2 separate regions of the Homo sapiens genome follow, and region 1 is linked to region 2. The links are contacts of gene promoters, found by promoter capture Hi-C in blood cells and fetal thymus (Javierre and others, 2016). All regions are on one chromosome and are shown on one strand. The core of a region is centred on a gene start or on the middle of the fragment in contact, and the rest is flanking DNA. Distances in the headings are between cores, read along the strand shown.

Evidence for each region. Contacts are between HindIII fragments. The CHiCAGO score rates a contact against its expected background, and 5 or more counts as called.
Region 1: a fragment that was not itself captured here is called in contact with the fragment with the promoter of SH3PXD2B in region 2 in 2 of 17 cell types (monocytes and naive CD8 T cells); the score reaches 5.2 in monocytes.

What each region holds. Positions count from the first base shown.
Region 1 is chr5:172,916,593-172,923,093 of GRCh38, forward strand. The region is part of intron 5 of ERGIC1 (endoplasmic reticulum-golgi intermediate compartment 1); the gene reads left to right. Among named protein-coding and RNA genes, the nearest start is that of MIR10523, 4.8 kb to the left of the region's middle. RefSeq lists enhancers at 1,794-2,295, 3,624-4,268. The HindIII fragment of the contact is 9,131 bases long and covers 603-6,501 here.
Region 2 is chr5:172,452,160-172,458,751 of GRCh38, forward strand. SH3PXD2B (SH3 and PX domains 2B) reads right to left here and starts at 2,366. Exons shown (of 13, transcript NM_001017995.3): 1 at 2,119-2,366. The coding sequence starts at 2,193. RefSeq lists an enhancer at 1,332-1,853. The HindIII fragment of the contact is 9,231 bases long and covers 210-6,592 here.

The DNA.
Region 1 (6,501 bases), core at 3,918-6,417, 470 kb after region 2:
GTGCTGGCTAGGGGCCACAGCGTTAGACAGTGCAGAGAGAAAGCACTTCCATCGCTGAGGAAAGTTCTGCTGGACCGCACACCCTTAGAAGGATGGCTCTGGTGGCCGGGCGCGGTGGCTCAAACCTGTAATCCCAGCACTTTGGGAGGCCGAGGTGGGTGGATCACGAGGTCAGGAGATCGAGACCATCCCGGCTAACATGGTGAAACCCTGCCTCTACTAAAAATACAAAAAAAAACAAAATTAGCCGGGCGTGGTTGCGGGCACCTGTAGTCCCAGCTACTCAGGAGGCTGAGGCGGGAGAATGGCATGAACCCGGGAGGTGGAGCTTGCAGTGAGCCAAGATCGTACCACTGCACTCCAGTCTGGGCGACAGAGTGAGACTCCATCTCAAAACAAACAAAAAAAGGATGGGGCTGGGCTGGAGAGGGTGGCAGGCAGTGGTTGTGGCAGTGGAGCTGGGGAGATGTGGTCGGATTAGGGAGGTAGAATCAATAAGACTCAGTGAAGAATCGGATGTGGGGGTAAGGGCACATGTGGAAGCAAAGAAACCTTTGACGTCTTTGTCTTGACAACCGGGTGGTCCTGTTTCTAGACATGGAAGCTTAGAAAAGCCTGGAGTCTGTGGGAAGTAGGTAGGGCTGGGCACTGGTCATTCCACTCTGGTTTCCTTTGGGGTTCCCATTAGGTGTCTACAGGGAGAGGTGAAATTGGAAGTTGGAGGTGTGGAGAGTTCAGGAGAGGGTTCTGGACCACAGATGTTGAGGTGGGAGTCATTAGTGAATAGATGATGTTGGAAGTCATGGGTCCTCAGAGTGGGGGCTCCTTAAGCCTCCAGGCCAGCAGCATCAGCATCACCTGGGAGATTGTTAGGAATGCAGATTCTCAGGCCCCCCTAAGACCCACCGACTCTGTGCTAGAACAAGCGCCCCTCAGAGATTCTGATGCCACTGAAGTTTGAGGAGCATTGGTTTAAGCAAGATTACCTACGGAGAGGCTGTAGATCCGTGTTCTAAACCTGGGGTCCACAGACACCCCCAAGAAGAGCGGATTGAATGCAAGAGATCTATGAAGTTGGATGGGGGAAAAATTGACATCTTTATTTTTGCTAAACTCGATCTAAAGTTTAGCATTTCCATCTGCGATGAATGTAGGCCACAAACCACAGTAGTATTAGCAGTGCCTGGGACCTCCTCAACAACAGAAATTGCCGGTATTTATAGCACGTTACAGTTGTTGCAGATAATTTCCAGAGACTGTTTATATGCACCACTGTTTTAAAATTACGGTGATTGGCCAGGTGCAGTGGCTCACACCTGTAATCCCAGCACTTTGGGAGGCCAAAGTGGGTGGATCACTTGAGGAGTTCAAGACCAGCCTGGTCAACATGTCAAAACCCTGTACCTACAAAAAAATACAAAAGTTAACCAAGCCTATGCTTGTAGTCACAGCTACTCGGGAGGCCGAGGTGGGAGGGTCTTCTGAGCCCAGGGAGGTAGAGGCTTCAGTGAGCTGAGATCGCACCACCACACTCCAGCCTGGGTGACAGAGTGAAACCCTTAATCAATCAGTCAATAAAAATTACAGTAATTATTAGACCCACCACTAGGTCATCTTATTTGATGCATCAGTAAAGCAGCATATTCAAATGTGGATTTTTAAATATTTTAATTACTATTTAAATATCTCTTTACTTTGTAATCCTATGCATTTTACGCATTAAAACATTTTAAGCATTTAAAACGTAGGTATCATTAGACTGGCAAAGGATCATCCGTGGCACCAAAAGCCTTAAGAACCTAAGGTCTGGAGAGAATTGCAGTTTGAGGACTGAGTTCTGGCGCCCCGCCCAGTCACTTCGAGGTGGGGAGATGCGGGGGTAACAAAAGGTGCAAGAAGGGGCAGTCGAACAGGAAGGAGGAAGCAAAGGCTGGGCGGAACCTGCAGCCTGGAAAAGAACATATGTATAGATATCAAAGAGCAGGGCTGGCGCTACCAGGCTCAGGAAGGCAGGCTTGGAATGGACAGTGATCTAAGTGCTGCAGAGAGTGCTCCAGAAAACGCTGATGATGAGGAGAGAAGGGGCCGCTGCAGGAGCCACGTCCTTACGAAGCAATGGGAGCCAGACGCAGGCCACAGTTGGGGGTTTAAGGCCTTGGAGAGGTTCACAGTGCCGGCAGGCAGGTGGGGGGTTGGTGGGGGACCTCTGCTGGGCCTCCATACCCTCCCTCTGTCCCCACCTCATCCTCTTGGGGAACCACTACTCACCCACAGGCCTCAGCTGATGTGGGTCCCTCAGGGGAAGTCCTCCCTCCCCTTCCCTGCCCACCCACATTCACTCCCCACCACGCCCCTCATCACGCTGCGGCTGCTGCCTGTGCCTCCTCCTTGACTTGGCCTCTCCCTTTGACCACTCCACTCAGGCTTTCGTGCTATTGAGCATCCACCTCACGCCTGGCTCTGTGCTTGGCGCTGGGCTGCAATGGGAGAGAAACAGCCATGCTCCCCGCCGTTGGTGGCCCATGTTCTATAACGGGGGGACAGCCAGTGCTCAGGTAAACAGGAAATATGTGATTTTGATAAAGCAGCCGTGAAGAGAATGACGGGGTGCTGTGGTGGAGAATGAAGGAGGAGACCCCTGAGGTTACAAAGGAAGCCCTGTCTGAAGACTGAAGATGAAGATGCACAGATGAACAGACGTACACGCACACCTCCTCACTGTGGGCCCCCCGCCCCCGGGGAGATGCAACCACCTGGGCTGAAAAAATATATGTACCCCAGATGGTGACCAAGAAGGGATCGTGCTTATTCAAGCACCTGGAGTGACAACCCACGAGACAGCCCTGCCACCAAGCCCTCCCACCTCTTGGCAAACACGCCCAAGACTGCAGTCTGCTCCCCTTAGAATGGGCTGTGCTGGAGCCCCCAGCCAGCTCTGGGTGAACTTGTCCTTTGGGGTCAGACAGACCTGTGGTCAAGGATCCCGGCTACCATGGTCACTGGTTGAATGACTCTGGGCAGTTTAGCTTCTCTGAGCCTCAGGTTCCTCATCTGTAGAATGGGGATAATAATACCTCACAGGCTGTGAAACATGAACAAACTCTGCAGTAGAGACTGGACAAGCATCCTGGCCTGCCTCATCTCCCGTCAGTGCAAAGTTTCCATGACCTCATCAGCTGGCACCCACCTTACAAGTGCGCCTGTGGAAGGCACATGGAGGGCGTCCAAGAAATGGGCCTTCTCTGGTCAGGGGAGTGCCAGGGAGTCTTTGAAAGGCTCACACCAGCCTTTCTTAGACCCGCGTTATGGCTGCCACGTACTAGGTTCTTACCCAGCCCTTTCCACATATTAGCTCCTTTAGTCCTCACAGTAGCCTGGAGGAAACTGAGGCACAGGAGGTTAAGTGACCTGGTCAAGGTCACGCAGCCAGGATTTTAACACAGGCAGCCTAGCACCAGGGCCCTGGCCCTCTGAGCTCACTGCCTGTGGCTGCTTCTCCCAACATCTTGGTTACACATGTCATGACCAGCTGTGTCTGTGTGCCCCAGGTCACAGCCTAGGGCACCCTCTGCCCCATACTCCTGGAGGGAGTAGAGACCGTCCCCCACCCCAGCCCAGCCACTTTCCCTTTGAGGAACCGCCCATCAAGAGGTGCTCAAAGAAGCCACCAGGGTCCATGTGCTGTGATGGCAAGGTCAGCAGCCAGCCCCCGCACCTCTCTCCCAGCATCAGGCTGAGACTTGTCCCATGGCCTCCTTATCCGACCCCCAGGAAGTTGACCAGCAGCCAGATGTCAGAGTTTGCGTGTTTTGAGCAGCAGCGGCAGCCTCACCAGAGACCCCACGGTGACCTCGTTTCATCAGCCAGCCCCGCAGGAGGAGGACAGGATGGGGTGAGGGGTATGGGGCCTGGCTCCAGCTATATGTTTTTAAAATCCATCAGAGACACTGACGTAGGTTCCTAAGTCACAGGCTCTAAAAGCGTTGCTGTTTCTTTCTTCAGCCCAGCATGTGCTGGCATGAGTCAGCCACCTGTGATGGATTTGGTGTGGAGGGGGAGTGGGTTCCTGAGTCACAGCCTCGCACGGCCCGGCAGGGGTGGCAGGTGCTGAGGGGACAGCCTTCTTGACTCACTTCACTCCCGGAGCACGCGGCCCAGGCCCCAATCCCAGTTCTGAACTCTGCCATGGCCCGATCTGCGGAAGGCCCTGTGTCACTGCGTAGAAAACCTCTGGGAGGACACACGCCTTATGGCTGTGGGTTTCTTACTCCCAGGGGTGGTCAGCAACAGGGTCTTTAGTCTGACTGTGTCTCATGACTGTTTTATCATGAAAATGTACCCAGGCATTATTTTTATCGGTGAAAATGAGGCATAAATGTTAAAACCCACAGTGGGCTTTTCCTCACGCCCTGCCTGTGAGTGTTCCCTCTTCCGGGAGGGCCCTTCTTGGTTGGCTCCGATGACAAACATGTTCACCCTACAAACCCGATCTGAGGCCAGCTGCGGGCTGCTTTGTATGCATCACCTCAATGAATCCTCCCAGTAATCTTCTGGCTTTACGCCCATTTCGCTGATGGAGAAACTGAGGCATGGAGTGGTTACTGACCTCGCCTAAGGCTCCCCAGCTAGGAAGTGGGGCTGGGCTTGGGGCCAAGTGTAGAACTCAGAGCAACCGCTCTACTATGGGTTATTGGGTCCCTGAAGCAGGCGATGCTGTCCCTCGAGGGAGATCTTGCCACGCCTTTGTTTCTGCTCCACTCCTGACCCAGCAAGTGTCCCTTCTCCACTGTAGCCTGCAGCTCGCTCCACTGCGAGTTTGCTGAGGCCGAGGCTACAGGCTGTCAGCTTGATGCCTCCCCTGTCAGCCACAAGCTCGGGCCCTGCTGAAGTAGGAATATTCCTGCAGGAAGTCCCCAACTTTGTGTTTGAAACAGACATGCTTACAAAATCAGACTTTGATGGGCTGCTGCACGATAAGCTATATTCCCTCCTCGGACACAGCTCGCACAGTCTTCTTCATTGGGCTGGAATAAGGTAACCCCCGAGTTTTTCAGTGTGGCATCTGGGGACCTTTGATAAACAGCCCCAACTCCTCCCTTGTGCCTCTTTGTTTCCTGCTGCTGCCAGCACCGCCACCTCCGTCTCATTTGGAGTTCAATAATACCAGACTCTTAGTTCCTTAGACAGCCCACATGCTGGGAAGTTTCTGTCCTCTGCACCTGTTCATGCTGTTCCCTCTGCCCAGATGCCTTTCGCTCTCTTCCTGAGTAATGCAGACTCATCTTCAGAGCCTTAACACAGGATGTCCTTCCCCCTGGGAAGCCCTCCCTGAATACAGCCTGCACCCTCAATTGAGCCGGGGGCCTTCCCTGTAACCCCCATGGTCTGCAAATTCCTCTGGGCCAGGGTGGATCCCACAGAGTCTCATTGTCTGTTCCAAGTCTGTGTCACAGGGGCTTGGCCAAGGCCAGATTCTTGTCTGCTCATCTCCCCAGTTCCGGCATCTCCTGAAGGACTGGCGCCATGTGGCCATCAGCCCAGGCTGCGGAGGTAGATGGCATCCAGGCATCAGAGGAGGGAGCAGTGCGTCCAACAGACGTGAGCTGAGACTGCAGCTCTCGACATGTGACCTTAGCAAGTTTCTTCACTGCTCTGAGCCTCCATTTTCTTTTCTGTAAAATGGGAATTATCAGATGACAAAGTCAAAGGATTCAGTGTTGTTTGTTTAGTCATTCATTCATTCAAAAAGTGTCTATTGAGCACCTGCTATGTGTCGGAGTCTGGGGAGCACAGCAGGGCGTGGACATGCTAATGGGAGGAGGCAGACGAGAACAGGATGGGTATGAGATGGCAGGTGATCCCAGAGGCTGTAGCAGGTAAGGGGATGGGGAATGGGGGCCAGGGTGCTCTTTTGCACAGGTGGACGTGGAGGGCCTCTCTGTTGGGCCCTGAGGGTCCGAGGGAGGGCCATGTGGAAGAGGGTCCCAGGAAGGGGTGCAGGCACAAAGGCCTAAAATGGGGCCACACTGGATGCTGTTCCCGGCACGGCAGGAGACCAGACAGGAAGCAGCAGAGGACACAGCAGCAGGAGGCCAAGCGGTGGGGACACGATGCTTGGCCAGCGGCCAGATGTGGCCTGTGGGCCACCACGAGGACATGGACCTGGACTCTGAGAGAATAGAAGCCGTGGAGGGTTCTGGGCAGAGGAGTGATGAGATCTGATGTAGGGTTTAAAAAGATCTTAACAGTCATTATTGGGAAAAGGCCCAGGCTGTGGGGAACATGGAAGCTGGGAGCCCAGGGAGGAGCCTGCCATTGTTGTCCATGAAGAGACGACCTTGGACCAGGGCAGCAGAGAAGAGGTCAGGCGCCAGGTGTGTTTGGAAGGTGGAGCTAACAGGGTTTCAGCTGATGGATGGGACGTCGGGAGTGAGAAAGGGGGGTTCCAGGATCATACCAAGGGTTCTAGTCTGAGCATCTAGGAGGAGGAGGAGGAGGAGG
Region 2 (6,592 bases), core at 1,116-3,615:
CATCCCCATTACACAGATGAAAAAACTGAGGCTGAGGTGACACAGCTACAACCTGGGAGGCCAAGATCTGAATCCCAATCTATGTTTTAACATAGAAACTTGTCTCAGGGGGCCCCCAAAAAGTGGCTGAAAGCTTCAAAAGACGGTTCTCAAAGCGCAAAACCTTCAAAAAACTGGCAAGGATGGAGCTGACACAGCAGAGAATGAAAAGCTTCCAGGTTTTCACTAATGATAAGAGAGATTTCCCAGTTTTTCAGAGGACTTTGCTCAGAGAAACTATAGGGGTACCGGATGTGGGAAGTGGTGTGGTCCTTTTGGGGTCCAGCGGGCCTGGATCTACATCCCTGCTTGGCTCTTGACTGTGACCTTAGGCGTGGGACCTCACTTTGCTGAGCCCTGGTTTCCTCATCTGTCAAATGGGCTTAAGGCCCTCTGCCTGATATGGGCGTGATAGGAGAGGCCAGAAGAGGGCGCGTGGACGATGATGGCCGGGCCTCGGTGGCAGTATCTATTCTCGTTTTTGCCAGCTCACAGACCTGGTGGGAGGTGGCATGGAGAATTCCAGACTTCCTCCAGTTGCCATGTTGGTGAAAACTGTCTTCATGCCAAAGAGGCAAACTCACTTACACGCTAACAGGCTCAAACAAGAAACTAAGATTTGGCAGCATTTGAAAACAGTTAACAAAAAATAAAAAAAGGAAGGAAAAAAAAAAGACAATTTAGCTCAGCTCTGGAATCAAGGGAAACTTCACTCTATATAAAGATGCCACAGGTCCAGGAAATAGCTTCCCACCGCCTGGCTAAGGGCTGAATAACTGGCTGCCCAGCCAATAACAATACAGACTCACACAGCACACCCTTTCTTGTGGAGAGCGCGGAGTGGGTTCCCGGCTATCTCCTTTCAGAATTTCACAGGCTATTCACGGAAGGCATGCAGATCTACTTTGTAAGAATTAGTTCTTAAAAAAAAAAGATCTGAAGACGACTTCCAGGGAGGCCAAGGAGCTTAATTTAGCCAGCCAACGCCCTTTTCTATTCATTGTTCTATACTTCTTTGTTAGGATTTTTTCCCTCCCTCTTACTCTTTTTCCCTTCCTGGTTAACTTCTCTGCAGCCAGGCTCCGCCACTGCCCACTTCTCACCGCCAGAGACACTATAGCCCCCTTCCCTGCTGTAATGAGGCCCTCCCCAAGGCCTCATGTGGGCCCATCACCCCACATCCCCTTTATCTCCACCTAGAACCTGCGAGGTGGTCCCAGGGCCTCCTGAATCTGCAGACGTGTCCCCTAGGTTGCTGCGGAAGCCACTTTCCACCTGCAGGTCACCGTCAGCCCCAGGCACCCCTGCTGGAGGGAGGGAAGCCCGAATGCAGCTCTATGTTCCAGGACCTGCAACCTCTGAGCCTCAGCCTTCCTATCTGCAAAACGACGCTACTGTCCCATTTTCTCAAGTCCTTGCCAGCTCCAAACAAGATTCCCATGTTCCAGAGGGAGATGCCAGGAGAAAACTTTCGTACATTTTAAAACAGAAGTTACTGGAGAGAGGGGGCAGGGGATGTTTTTAACCCTTTAAAGGCGTAGCCACTCAAATGATCCATTCCCAGAGATCTCCTCCATCGCCCAGGCCGGCTCTTGCCAAAGAACGGAGTCAAATTCGGCGAACCCTAGAGGGGCTACCTGTGGCTGGGGACTGCGGGTCTGCGCGCCTCTGGACAAGGAGGGGCAAGGCGGGCGGCCTGAGAACAGGCACTTCTGTCTCTCCCGCTTTCTGTCTCAGACCCCTCACCGGCTGGAGCCAGACTTTTCCACAGATGAGCAGGACGGGAGTTGGGGGGACACGGAGAAGACAGAAAGGGGTAGAGGAGCCGCAGGGAGGCGAGTAGGGGGGCGAGGCGGGAGGAAGGGATGGAGGGGGAGAACGAGGCAAAAGCGGGGAGGGGAGGGGAGGGAGGGAGGAGGAGTCGGGAGGGACCCGGGCAGCGCCGCCGCAGAGCCGAGGGGAGAGCAGGGGAGGAGGGGACGGGAAGCGCTGGAGGCAGAAGTTTTCCAAGCCGGGGGCCCTCGGTCGCCCCCGACGGGGCGCGGGCTCAAGGGGGCGTGGGGGCCGCGCCGCACTCACATAATGCTTGTTGGGCACCCGCCGCTTCTGCACGTCTAGCACCTTCACCTCCACGATGCTGCGCCGCGGCGGCATGGCCGCTCCTCCGCCCGCAGCGGGCCGAGCGCGGGTGCGGGTGGCGCGGGGTGCAGGGAGCGCTGGGGGCGCGCCGCCGCGGGCAGGGAACCTGGAGCTGAGCGCAATCGCAGCCGGGGCCGAGCACGAGCCGCCGCCGCCACCGCCGCCGCCCTTCGCTCGGCGCGCACTCCAGCCGGGCCCAGCCGCCGCCGCCCGCCCCCGGCCCGCCCCCCGCACCGCCCCCCGCACCGCCCCCCGCACCGCCCCCCGCGCCGCCGGCCCGCCCCCCTTAAAGGGCCCGGCCCCGACCCCCGCCCACCGCGCGCGAACCCCGCCGGCCACGTCCGGCCCCCGCCCGGCCTTTGTCCCGGTGCTGAGCCGCCGCGCCGGGGGAGGGGACTGGACTGACCCCGTCGCCCGTTCACTGATTGACGTATCGATTCATTCCAGCACTCTCGCTCCGGCAGCCGCCATCCACCGCCAGTTTGGAGAGCCGGACACCCGGGTTCGAATCCCGGCTTTGCCGCTTTTCCACTCTGTGCCCTCGGCAAGTTGCTTAACCTCTCTGGGTTGGGTCTCTTCGTCTATAATATGAGCCTAGTAGTACAAGCACCATGTTTGTCTTTTTGTGTCTGGCTTATTTCACTCGGCATAATGTCCTCAAGGCTCATCCATGTTGTAGCACGTGTCAGTAGTACCGCCTGCCTGCCGGTGCTGCGCCCGGGATTAAGTGCATGTGAAGCCATTCCGCAGTGCAGTCCATGGTATGAGTGCTGGCGTTCCTAAAGCCACCCCAAGCCCTGGTGATTCAGGAGGAGCAAGAGACCCGTGACCAGGTTCCCCCAGCCTCAGTCTGGGACATGGGGAGTGAGGGAGAGAAAAACTGCAACAAATGCGCATACGTGCAATGTAATTGCCATGGAAGCAACAAAAGGGGATAAAAGGGTGGTGACTATGTGTGAGGGGCAGCTGGGTGCTTGTTAGCAAGGCCATCGATTTCCAGTTGCGGAGCACTTAACTGCTCGCTGGGCCCCGTGGCCCCTGCTTTTCACAAATGCTGTCTTTGCATCCTCAGGCAGACTCTAGGAGGAAAAGGTGTTTTTACAGAGGACGGCCTCCAGACATTTGGACATTTCCAATGAGGCCTGAGGACCCTCTGACTTGGGAACTGTACTTCAGAAGAATGTGCCTTACAGGAATTACATCAGTGAAGGTCCAGAGTCAGGGAGCCGGTGGATGGAGCCCGTCACTGCCTGGCTCTAGGTGGATCTCACACGTTGAAGCTGCCGTGGCTGGGGCAGCTCCTCGTTTCTTCATCTAGTGCCTCCTAGCACTGGCTGGGCACTGAGTCACTTTCAGGAGATGTTGGCTGAATGAATGGATAAATGAATATATAATGCATGGATGGGAGGTTTAGGCTCCTGGCCAGTGTTTTCACAGCCAGTAAGTGGGGGCTCTTTTCAACAAACCGTACGACTCTTCTCCATGCCACGACAGAGCTACTTCCCACCCCGGTCCAGGATCAGCCTTTGGAAAAGGGTGGGCTTATCCAGGGTAGGACGGCTCTCAGCCTCGGCCAGGCCACGTGGATGATTTGGGCTGATTCACTTTGGATCCGCCCCTCCATTTGCTCCTCTGACTTCCTTGCCAGACTTTACCATCCTGCTCCAGCCCCAGAGGCTGGCCTGTGTGGATTTCACTGACAGCTCTCTGTCCTGGTCTTCCTGTTTGGCTTGGCCAGTGGAAGGGCCTGGCAGGAGATTGAGGGCAAGAGGAGAGAGGGAGGTCTGGGTATTTAATCCCTAAGCCCCTCCTCCCCGATTGTTTTTACCAAAGGTGCCCTTTCTCACATGGTCTCTCTCAGGGTTCCTGAAGCCACTTTTCTGCTCAGGACAGTGACAGTCTTGCTGTTGCAAGCCCTGGGTACTACGCCATCCTCGGTGCTTCCTTAGCCCCGCCCACACCCGTATACATTGACCCTTTACTAAACTGTCTTCATGGACCCAGCTTGAGGGTGGCATCTGTTCGGTGCCAGGACCCTCACTCATGTAATTCCTGTAAGGCACATTCTTCTGAAGTACAGTCCCAAGCCAGAGGGTCCTGAGGCCTCATTGGAAATGTCCAAAGAAGTGAAGGTCTGCTTTTCCGTCCCTGCCACATCGTGCATTGCCTTATTAGGAGCCAAGCCTTCCTAAGAAGGCAGAAGCTAGAGGCCCTCTCTGAATCAGCCAGCTTCCTGGGTTTTTCCGGAGAGGCAGAGAGACCTGCCCCCAGCCACACCATGGGTGGCAGAGGTGGGTCCTGCTGGCTGTGTCCGTCTCCTCTGTCTGGGGAAGACAAAGGTCCCCCCACAACCACCAGTAGCAGAAGATGCTATCCCTGCATCTTTACGTATCTTTCCTTTGTTTTACTTTTTTATTGTAGTAAAAAATACATAACATAAAATTTAACATTTCAACCATGTTTAAAGCATACAGTTGAGTGGCATTAAGTACACTCACATTGTTGTGCAACTGTCACCACCATCCCTCTCCAGAACTTTCTCATCTTCCTAAACTGGAGCTCTGTCCCTATTAAACACTGAGTCCCCCCCCACTGCCCCCCAACCTCCTCCAGGCCTTGGCAACCATTGTTCTACTTTCCATCTCTATGAGTTTGACTATGCTAGGTACTTCATATGAGTGGAAACACACAATGTTTGTCTTTTTGTGTCTGGCTTATTTCACTCGGCATAATGTCCTCAAAGCTCATCCATGTTGTAGCATGTGTCAGAATTTCCTTTTTATGGCTGAATAATATTCCATTATATGTATATAGCACTTTTTCTTTATCCATTCATCTGTCAACAGTCACTTGGGTTGTTTTCATCTTTTGGCTATTCTGAATAATGCTGCTGTGAACATTGGTATAAAAATATCTGTTCAAGTCCCTGGTTTCAATTCTTTTGTGCATATACCAAGAAATGGAATTGCTGGATCATGTGATACTTCTATGTTTAATTTTTTTTTGAGGAGCCCCTAAACTGTCTTCCACAGGGGCTGTGGCATTTCGCATTCCCTCAGCAATGCACAAAGGTTCCAATTTCTCTACATCCTTGCCAACACTTGTTATTATCTGTTTTGTTTGTTTGTTTTGTTTTGTTTTGTTTTGTTTGAGAAAGAGTCTTGCTCTGTCTCCCAGGCTGGAGTGCAGTGACGCAATCTCAGCTCACTGTAACCCCTGCCTCCTGGGTTCAAGCAGTTCTCCTGTCTCAGCCTCCCGAGTAGCTGGGACTATAGGCGCCCGCCATGCCTGGCTAATTTTTGTATTTTTAGTAGAGATGGGGTTTCACCCTATTGGTCAGGCTGGTCTCAAACTCCTGACCTCAGGTGATCCACCCCCCTCAACCTCCCAAAGTGCTGGGATTACAGGCATGAGCCACCGCCCCCGGCCTTGTTTTGTTTTTTAAGAGACAGGGTCTCATCCTGTCACCCAGGCTGGAGTGCAGTGATTTTGATCATGGCTTACTGCAGCCTTGATCTCCTGGGCTCAAGGGATCCTCTGCCTCCGCCTCCCTGGTAGCTGGGACTATAGGCACCCACCAGCACATCTGGCTATTTTTAAAATTTTCCTTTTGTAGAGACAGAATCTCACTATGTTGACCAGTCTGGTTTTGGACTTCTGGCCTCAAGTGATCTTCCTGCATTGGCCTCCCAAAGTGCTGGGATTACAGGCATGAGCCACTGTGTCTGGCCTGTTTTTATTTCTTTATTCGTTCATTTGTTTTTGATAATAACCATTCTAATGGATGTGAAATGGAATCTCATTGTGGTTTCGATTTGCATTCCTCTAATGATGAGTGATGTTCAGCATCTTTTCATGTGCTTGTTGGCCATTTGTTTATCTTCTTTGGAGAAGTGTCTATTCAAGTCCTTTGTGCATTTTAAAATTGTGTTATTGGTTTTTTTCTTCTTACCTTTCTATATCACCCATTTACCTCCTAGACAACTTGGGCTTTTCTGAGTGTCCACCATAGTTTTTGGAGAACTGAATTGTGGGCTGGTGATGCAGTTTAGGCTGGCTGTTCAGACTGGAAAGATCCATTTAGGCTCTGCTTGGGAGAACTGCAGATTATCTGCTGATAAAAATCTCAACCCAGATGGTCACTACAATTCACTGGAACTGGACTAGTTCCTTGTCACAAACACAAAACACTTCTGCAAATTCGAGTTCATCAGGGAGCCCAAACCTAAGGGAGAACTCGAATGGAAGAGAAATCCCACTTGGAATTCAAATAGGATTCCAAGTGGGATTTCTCTTCCATTCGAGTTCTCCCTTAGGTTTGGACAAGGATTCCTTTTAGACTCTATATAGTCTAAAAAGAGGAGGGACCCTTCGTTCCAGAAATCCCTGCCCCTTTCTTAGAAAACTCGTGAAT